Linked DNA regions of Homo sapiens: region 2 is linked to region 1. Evidence: promoter capture Hi-C in 16 types of primary human blood cells and fetal thymus (Javierre and others, 2016). All regions are on one chromosome and are shown on one strand. Each heading gives the region's core, a stretch centred on a gene start or on the middle of the fragment in contact. The rest is flanking DNA. Distances are from core to core; before and after follow the strand shown.

Evidence for each region. Contacts are between HindIII fragments. The CHiCAGO score rates a contact against its expected background, and 5 or more counts as called.
Region 2: a contact is called between a fragment that was not itself captured here and the fragment with the promoter of VTCN1 in region 1, in 2 of 17 cell types (erythroblasts and total B cells). The highest score is 5.2, in erythroblasts.

What each region holds. Positions count from the first base shown.
Region 1 is chr1:117,209,393-117,213,285 of GRCh38, reverse strand. It overlaps VTCN1 (V-set domain containing T cell activation inhibitor 1), which reads left to right and starts at 2,359. Exons shown (of 6, transcript NM_024626.4): 1 at 2,359-2,462. The coding sequence starts at 2,431. The HindIII fragment of the contact is 4,073 bases long and covers 2,160-3,893 here.
Region 2 is chr1:117,799,674-117,803,544 of GRCh38, reverse strand. No RefSeq gene overlaps it. Among named protein-coding and RNA genes, the nearest start is that of GDAP2, 130 kb to the left of the region's middle. The HindIII fragment of the contact is 1,332 bases long and covers 604-1,935 here.

The DNA.
Region 1 (3,893 bases), core at 1,110-3,609:
AAGACTCTCTCTTTACACGTGCACGCGCGTGCACATGCGCACACACACACTTTTGGGCTGTTGCTTTGTAATGATTTCCCTCATTATTTTGTGTGTGATATTCTTCAAGTTTTGGAGTCAGAACCAGAGTACTGTCCATTTGCTTCTCCAGAGGCAGCAGAATGCTTTTCAGCTCCACATCCCTGCCAGGTAATGCCTGCCCTCTAACAGGTGGGCCACTTCAGCTACATTTTCCCTCTCACTCGGAGGTGTCTCTGCTGGGTTGTCTTGATTTTCCCTCCAGGGTCATCCTTAGCTGTCCCTTTAGTGATGATGCATGGCTAGAAGAGAGAAACTCCATGGCTCTGCCCCAGGGTGTTTGAGGTGGGGCTGCTTTTTTGTTTTTTTTTTAAGACAGCATCTTGCTTTGTTGCCCATCGTGGAGTATACTGGCACGATCATGGCTCACTGCAGCTTCAAGCCCCACTCAAGTGATCCTCCCACCCCAGCCTCCTGAGCAGCTGGGACTATATGCCCAGCTAATTTTTTGTTTGTTTTCCTGTTACTAGATGGATTCTTTTTTTTTTTTTTTAAATTTTGTAGAGACGAAGTCTCAGTATGCTGCTCAGGCTAGTTTCGAACTGCTAGGCTCAAGAATTCCTCCTACCAGCCAGGCGCAGTGGCTCATGCCTGTAATTCCAGTACTTGGGGAAGTCGAGGTGGGTGGATCACTTGAGGTTGGGAGTTCGAGACCAGCTTGGCCAATATGGAGAAACCCCGTCTCTACTAAAAATACAAAAATTAGCTGAGTGCGGTGGTGCACCTATAATCCCATCTACTTGGGATGCTGAGGCAGGAGAATCGCTTGAACCCAGGAGGCAGAGGTTACAGTTACAGAGCCAAGATTGTACCATTGCACTCCAGCCTGGACAACAGAGCGAGACTCAGTCTCAAAAAAAAAAAATTCCTCCTACCTTGGCCTCCCAAAATATTGGGATTATAAGCTTGAGCCACTGTGCCCAGCTGAAGCTGCTCTTCTTAAGGCTCATTGAGGGGTAGGGCAGAATCCCTGTGCCTTTGGTTGGAATTACAGAAACCACTGCTCCCACTGCCCTCAGCTTCCCCAGACCCGGGAAGTGACCATTCAGCACTGGCACTGCATAGATTCCAGGGCATCACCCTTTACTTATTCTGGGGAAGGGAAAGCACATAGACCCGCCTCTCATTTATCCCTCACTGCAACCCAGTGAGACACACATTGAAGTAAAGTGATGTTCTCAAAGCCACATGATTAATTAGGAACCCAGGAATTGAACCTAGCTGTTTGACTCTAAAGGTCTTTCCACTGTGACCTTGCCCTCTCCTGCTGCCTTATTTTCACCACTCAGTTCTCTCTGCTCCATCTTTACTCAATGGTTGCTCCACCTGCCCATACGCAAACACTAGGAGGATGCTGCTGAAGGCCTGGAGCACCTTCACTGCAAACATAGTCAGTCAGCAGCAGCAGTAAGCCAGGCAACCAGTCATGAAACTTTCCCATCCAAGGTACTTCTGGGGGCTGGAGGAAACAATAAGGAGAGAGAGAGAGAATAAGAGAGAGAGAGAGCAACGTTTAGGCTTTAACGAGAATCTTGCCTAGTTGGCAATCTGCTGGATGAAATGTCAGAGATTTTTGCTAACCCACTCACCTTTGACAGCAATAGCTTCTGAGTATTGGGATCTCCAGAGAGAGGGGCAGTTGAAGCAGAGCACATTCAGTGTCTTTTTGGAGTCTCAAAAAAATTGCAAGGTGGGAAGTGCTGGCCCTCTCCTGCTCCCACTGAAATGAAGCTGGAAGAGAATTGCACACCCAGCTGGGCATCTCAGGAGACCTAGGCAAGTTCAGTCTTGAGTGACAAACTCAGTGGTCTTGTCACTTCAGCTCATGGCCTTCCTGAGGTCCCCCAGCATGAGTCTCCTCCACGAGAGACCTGACCAATGGTGACCCAGCCTCTGTTTGAGCGTCATCTACCAGCAGAGATGGGGACTCCTGGCCCCAAGGCTCCCAGCATAGCCTGACACTTTGAGCTATTCCAGTCCTTTCTTATTTTGAGATTAAATCTCCCTCCCTACAGCTCCCTTCCACAGTCAGGAGGAAAGTCCTGCTGAATGCAGGCCCTGAAGCAAGGGCCAGGGAAGCTTTTCCTCGTCACCCTCCCAAAGTCAAGACTTGGAAAGGCAGCTCTGAGCCCCTGGCTTGGCTGGCTGGCCGGAGCAGGCAGCCACTGTGCCTGCAGGGAATTCTGCACAGCCAGTTTCCTCATACCTGAGCCGTCTACAGCTGCACGCACCACTCCCGGCCTCAACACACTATTTAAGGCCAATACACGGGAGCTGGTTGTGAGTCACCAAGGAAGGCAGCGGCAGCTCCACTCAGCCAGTACCCAGATACGCTGGGAACCTTCCCCAGCCATGGCTTCCCTGGGGCAGATCCTCTTCTGGAGGTAGTATATACTCTTCTCTCTATCCTTATGGGTGAAGGGAACAGCAGTGAGGTCTTTTGGGGATGCTGAGCACTGCTGGGCTGTCCCATAGGACCCCACCTGTAATTTTATCTGATCCAGCATTGGGCCAGCGGGAGCCTGGCCAGACAAGAGCCTAACTGGATTTGACTTAACATCCCACCTCAGCTGCTCAAGGCACCTGTTCAGGGTTAGGGAGGTTTTTGGTTGGTGGCCTGCCATGGAGGGCTGGCGCTTGCTGGGCAGCTTGGACTGAGGGGAGTACGTGCCAAGCTGGGCATTCCCCTGAGATGTCAAGGCTGTGAGCACCATGGGGACACTGAGCAGGCTGGTGTGGGTTGCATGGTGGGATGGCAGGGAATCCATGACTGCGACAGTGGAGGGGATGCAGGAGGACCCTTTATGCAGCCCCCAGGGGGACGGAGGAGAATGTGCTTTCATTCTCTGTGGGTGTGATTTCTTGCTACTCTTGAGCAATTCACACCAACACCCCTCCCCAGGCCCCCCCAGCTCAAAGGTTGGGTCCCTAGTTTTCCTAGGAGCTCCTTGGAGAGGAGAACTTGCTGCTGCTGCTGCTGCTGCTGCTGCTGCTGAACTCCCCAGAGAGGAAGAAGGAAGCAAGTTCCCTCCCCTACCTTTTGCTTCTCCCCTGAGCTACATTCTAGTTGCCTCTTTTTCCCTCAGAACAGCATTTACCCTCCTGGAAGGAAAGAGATGGAAAGTGCAGGGTTTTCTTGAAATGATTGATTCAGTGTCAGTCACAACTCAGGACAGTGTTTAGGGAGGCTGATACTTGTTGGTTCTAGAGGTTGTTTGAAGGACCAGTCCTCCAATTTGTTTCTTTTTCCCACAAAAGGAAGAAAAGAAGAGAGGGAAGGAGAGAGGAAAGGAATCCTCAGGTCAACAGTGAAAAGTTTGTGAAGAGACTACGAGAGTAATGTTACTTCCCAGAGGCAGCCTAGAAAGTTCTTTTCCTTGAAACAAAATATCAGCTCCCCTGACTCGACTCACGTTTATCTGAAATCACCTGCCGGGTAGCAGAGGTGAAGGACTCTGCAGGGCTGGTGGGGGTGGCTGCAGCGGCACTTCTGCCCCCACCCCTGTGCCTGGCTACAGCACTGTGCTCCAGGAGAAGCAGTGGGTGGCAGGGGCTTCCCTCTAGACCCTTCTGCCCTGAGAGGATGTCCCTAAGAAGCACCTATGTCAGAGGAGCTAGCATTTTGTGAGTGACTCCTTCCCTGCCCTGCACTAGGTGTCTTAGAGCAGCGTGTCCACCACTGCCTTGTGAAGACTCGTTATCACCTCAGAGAAGTTAAGGCCAGATGACTGTGAAACTGTGCATGAGGGGATCTTGCTCTGAAATCCCAAGCTCTCTCCCCCTGCCACCCTTGCCCCTGCTCCTGCCAGTCCCAG
Region 2 (3,871 bases), core at 20-2,519, 590 kb before region 1:
TGTTAGTCTGACAACAGCGTAGGACTGGTGGATGCCTCTCTGAGTAAGCCTTTCTGGGTCAAATTAATTCCCCTTTTCACTGAGACTTGGCAAGCCCTGTGATATAGTTAGAATAAGGAATGCTATTGCTTTCTAGCCAAAGTGATATATGTCTTAGTAGATTTCTTTTAATTAGTAGTGACTGGGGATGTTTTTATGTCTCTGGATGAATCCTTCCCATCCAGAGTAATTATTATTCACTTGAGAAAGCAAACTAAAATTTTATGTTTCTCATAAATGTTTGAAAAGAAGCCACTTCATATTCCAGGAGAGGAAATCACAGGCTTGCCATGTGGACGGTCTATTTGAGGGCTCTTGGCTTTGAAATAAACATCTATCCAGTTTAGCCTCTGTGTGAGGAGCAGCATTTGATGCCACTAGGTGAGAGTACGCACAAGCTCATCCCTGCAGAACTCTGCCAGCTACTCCTTTCTGCACTGGTGGGCCTTATTAGTGTCACATGATCATTTCAAATAGGCCAAGTGGCTTTTGATTTCTAAGTCCCCTGCTTCTCTGTGGCTTATGCCATTCTACAAGAATCTAAATTCTATGATAATATAAGCTTATATAATACTACCAAACACGAGAGCACATTTTGTATTTCACTAGTCTAAGTTTGAGTACCTAGTAATTTTGAATTACATGACTAATCAACCAGTTGTCCTGCTGTGAACCTATCCCTTGCAGCCCTGAGTGTGGGTGGAAGACAAGGGTTTCCCCTCGGGTAGAGATGCTACACAGATGTCCTGGAGGAAGCGAGTATTTTTCGTAAATAGAGGGAAACAAAAGGAAGAATTGTACACATCTCCTCAAGAGGGCTCAGCTGAACAGGAAGGTCTGGAAATGCCTGAAGCTACCCTCAGTAAGAGGCAGGAGAGCAAAGAGAATGAAATGTTACTGCAAGATTTATGAAGGACTTGATTTATAAAAAGCTCAGAACTGATTTAATTGGGGCCAAGACCTCAACTTGAGAGGGATCTGACATACAAAGAATGTAGTGAGGCTGCTTTGCCCACCACTGCAGCTGGCTTGGATGTCACAGGCAAAATACATTTCTAAGGACATAAAAGTTGCCTATACATATACCATCTTAATATAATTTCCAATATTTGTAGAGTGAACCATAGTCTTCCTCACTGCTTAATTATTTGATTTTCATTCTCTGATCTCAGAAGAGAGTCATTTTCTTTTTCCTCTTACAAAGGATCTATTGATAAACTGGTTCCAGCTTTGTCTGTTCCATTCTTGGGTATGTGTGTCTTAATACCTCAGTCTCTTCTTAATCCCTCAGTCTCTGATTTGACAAGAATATTAGGACACCAAAGGAAAAACAAACAAATAAAAAAACTCTACCTAGAAGACATGCTGAATAGTAACAGAGAATGAGGTAGAATGTTCCCCTTTCATGACCCAAGAACTGATGAAATTTAAATATTATCATAAACTTATTGCCTCTGAAATACCTATGCATGATAGATACTTGGAGAAGGTCACAGGCCCAGTTTTGTCAGGCAGTAGTGAGAATACATTTAGGGTCATAGTTCAAGGCATAGTTCTGGTTGAAAGAGTTCATTGAAATACAGATTTAAGTCCATGCCTGAGAGGCCTGATTTATTCAGCTCTAAAGTTCTAAGGCCATTATCTTGACCCATTAGCATATATTTATGTAGGCTATTTGATTAAAATATGAAATTAAATGATCAGAATGTATTTTTCCAGTAGCACCACCCAAAACTTGCATTAACTGATGAGCTCTGATTTTTATCATTTGATTTAGTTAACTCCACAAGTTTGAACCTACCTCTATGGAACAAAGGCCATAATCTATCATACTTTTTAAAAAATGGACAATCTTCTACTGTAGATTATTAGCTTTTCTGGTATTTCAGCTAAGCTTCATGCACATTTACTCTAACACATTATAGGTCTCGGTGTATCAATCTGATATTTTACAAGAGGAGCAGAATCTGCTAAGAATACAGGCATATGTCATTTTATTGCACTTCACTTTATTGTACCTGCAGATATTATGGTTTGTTGGTTTTTTTCTTTTTTTTTTTTAAGACAGAGTCCCACTCTGTCACCTAGGCTGGAGTGCAGTGGCACAATATTAGCTCACTGCAACCTCCTCCTCCCAGGTTCAAGTGATTCTCCCACCTCAGCCTTTCCAGTAGCTGGGATTACAGGCACACCACCACACCCAGCTAATTTTTGTATTTTTAGTAGAGACAGGGTTTCTCTATGTTGGCCAGGCTGGTATCAAACTCCTGACCTCAAGTGATCCACCCCCCTTGGCCTCCCAAAGTGCTGAGACTATAGGCATGAGTCACTGCACCCGGCTGGGTTTTTTTTTTTTTTTTTTAAACGAATTGAAGGTTTGTAGCAACCTTGTGTTGAGCAAGTCTATCGGTATCATTTTTTCAACAGGTTGTGCTCATTTTGTGTCTCTGTGTCACACTTTGGTAATTCTTGCAATATTTAAAATTTTTTCATTATTATTATATCTGTTATGGTGATCTGTGATCAGTGATCTTTGAAGTTACTTTGTCATTGTTTGGGGTGCCACGAATTGCACCCATATAAGAAGGCAAACTTAATGGATAAATGTTGTGTGTGTTCTGACTGCTCCACTGACCAGCTGCTCCCCCATCTCTCTCCCTTTCTTCAGGCCTCACTATTCCCTGAGACACAGCAATATTGAAATTAGGCTAGTTAATAACTCAACAATGGCCTTTAAGTGCTCAAGTGAAAGGAAGAGTCATACATCTCTTATTTTAAATCAAAAGCTAGAAATGATTAAGCTTAGGGAGAAAAGCATGTCAAAAGCTGAGATGGCCCAAAAGCTAGACTTCTTGCCCAAAGGCAAACAGTTAGCCAAGTTGTAAATGCCCATGAGTTCTTGAAGGGAATTAAAAGTGCTACTCCAGGGAACACACAATGATAAGAAAGTGAAACAGCCTTACTGCTGATATTGAAAATGTTTTGGGGGTCTGGATAGAAGATCAAACCAACCTCAACATTCCCTTAAGCCAAAGCTTAATCCAGAGAAAGACCATAACTCCCTTCAATACTATGAAGGCTGAGAGAAGTGAGAAAGCTGCAGAAGAAGAGATTGAAGCCAGTAGAGGTTGGTTCATGAGGTTTAAGGAAAAAAGCCACCTCCATAACATAAAAGTACAAGGTAAAGCAGTAAGTGCTGATGTAGAAACTGCAGTAAGCAATCCAGAAGATCTAGTTAAGATAAATAATGAAGGTGGCTGCACTAAACAACAGATTATCAGAGTAGACAATACAGCCTTCGATTGGAAGAGGATGCCGTCTAGTACTTTCATAGCTAGAGAGAAGTCAATGCCTTAAAAGCTTCAAAGGACAGACTGACTCTTATTAGGGGCTAATGCAGCTGGTGACTTTAAGTTGAAGCCAACGCTCATTTACCATTCTGAAAATCCTATGGCCCTTGAGAATTATGCTAAATCTACCCTGCTGGCTATATAAATGGAAGAAGAAAGCCTGGATGACAGTGCATCTGTTTATAGCATGGTTTACTGAATATTTTAAGCCCACTGTTGAGATCTGATCCTCAGAAAAGAAGATTCTTTTAAAAATATTACTGCTTATTGGCAATGCACCTGTTACCCAGGATCTCTGATGGAGATATACAAGGGGATGAATGTTGTTTTCATGCTGGCTAACACAACATCCATTCTGCAGTCCATGGATCAAGGAGTAATTTTGACTTTCAAGTCTTACTATTTATGAAATGCATTTTATAAGGCTATAGCTGCCATACATAGTGATTCCTCTGATGAATCTGGGCAAAGTCCATTTAAAA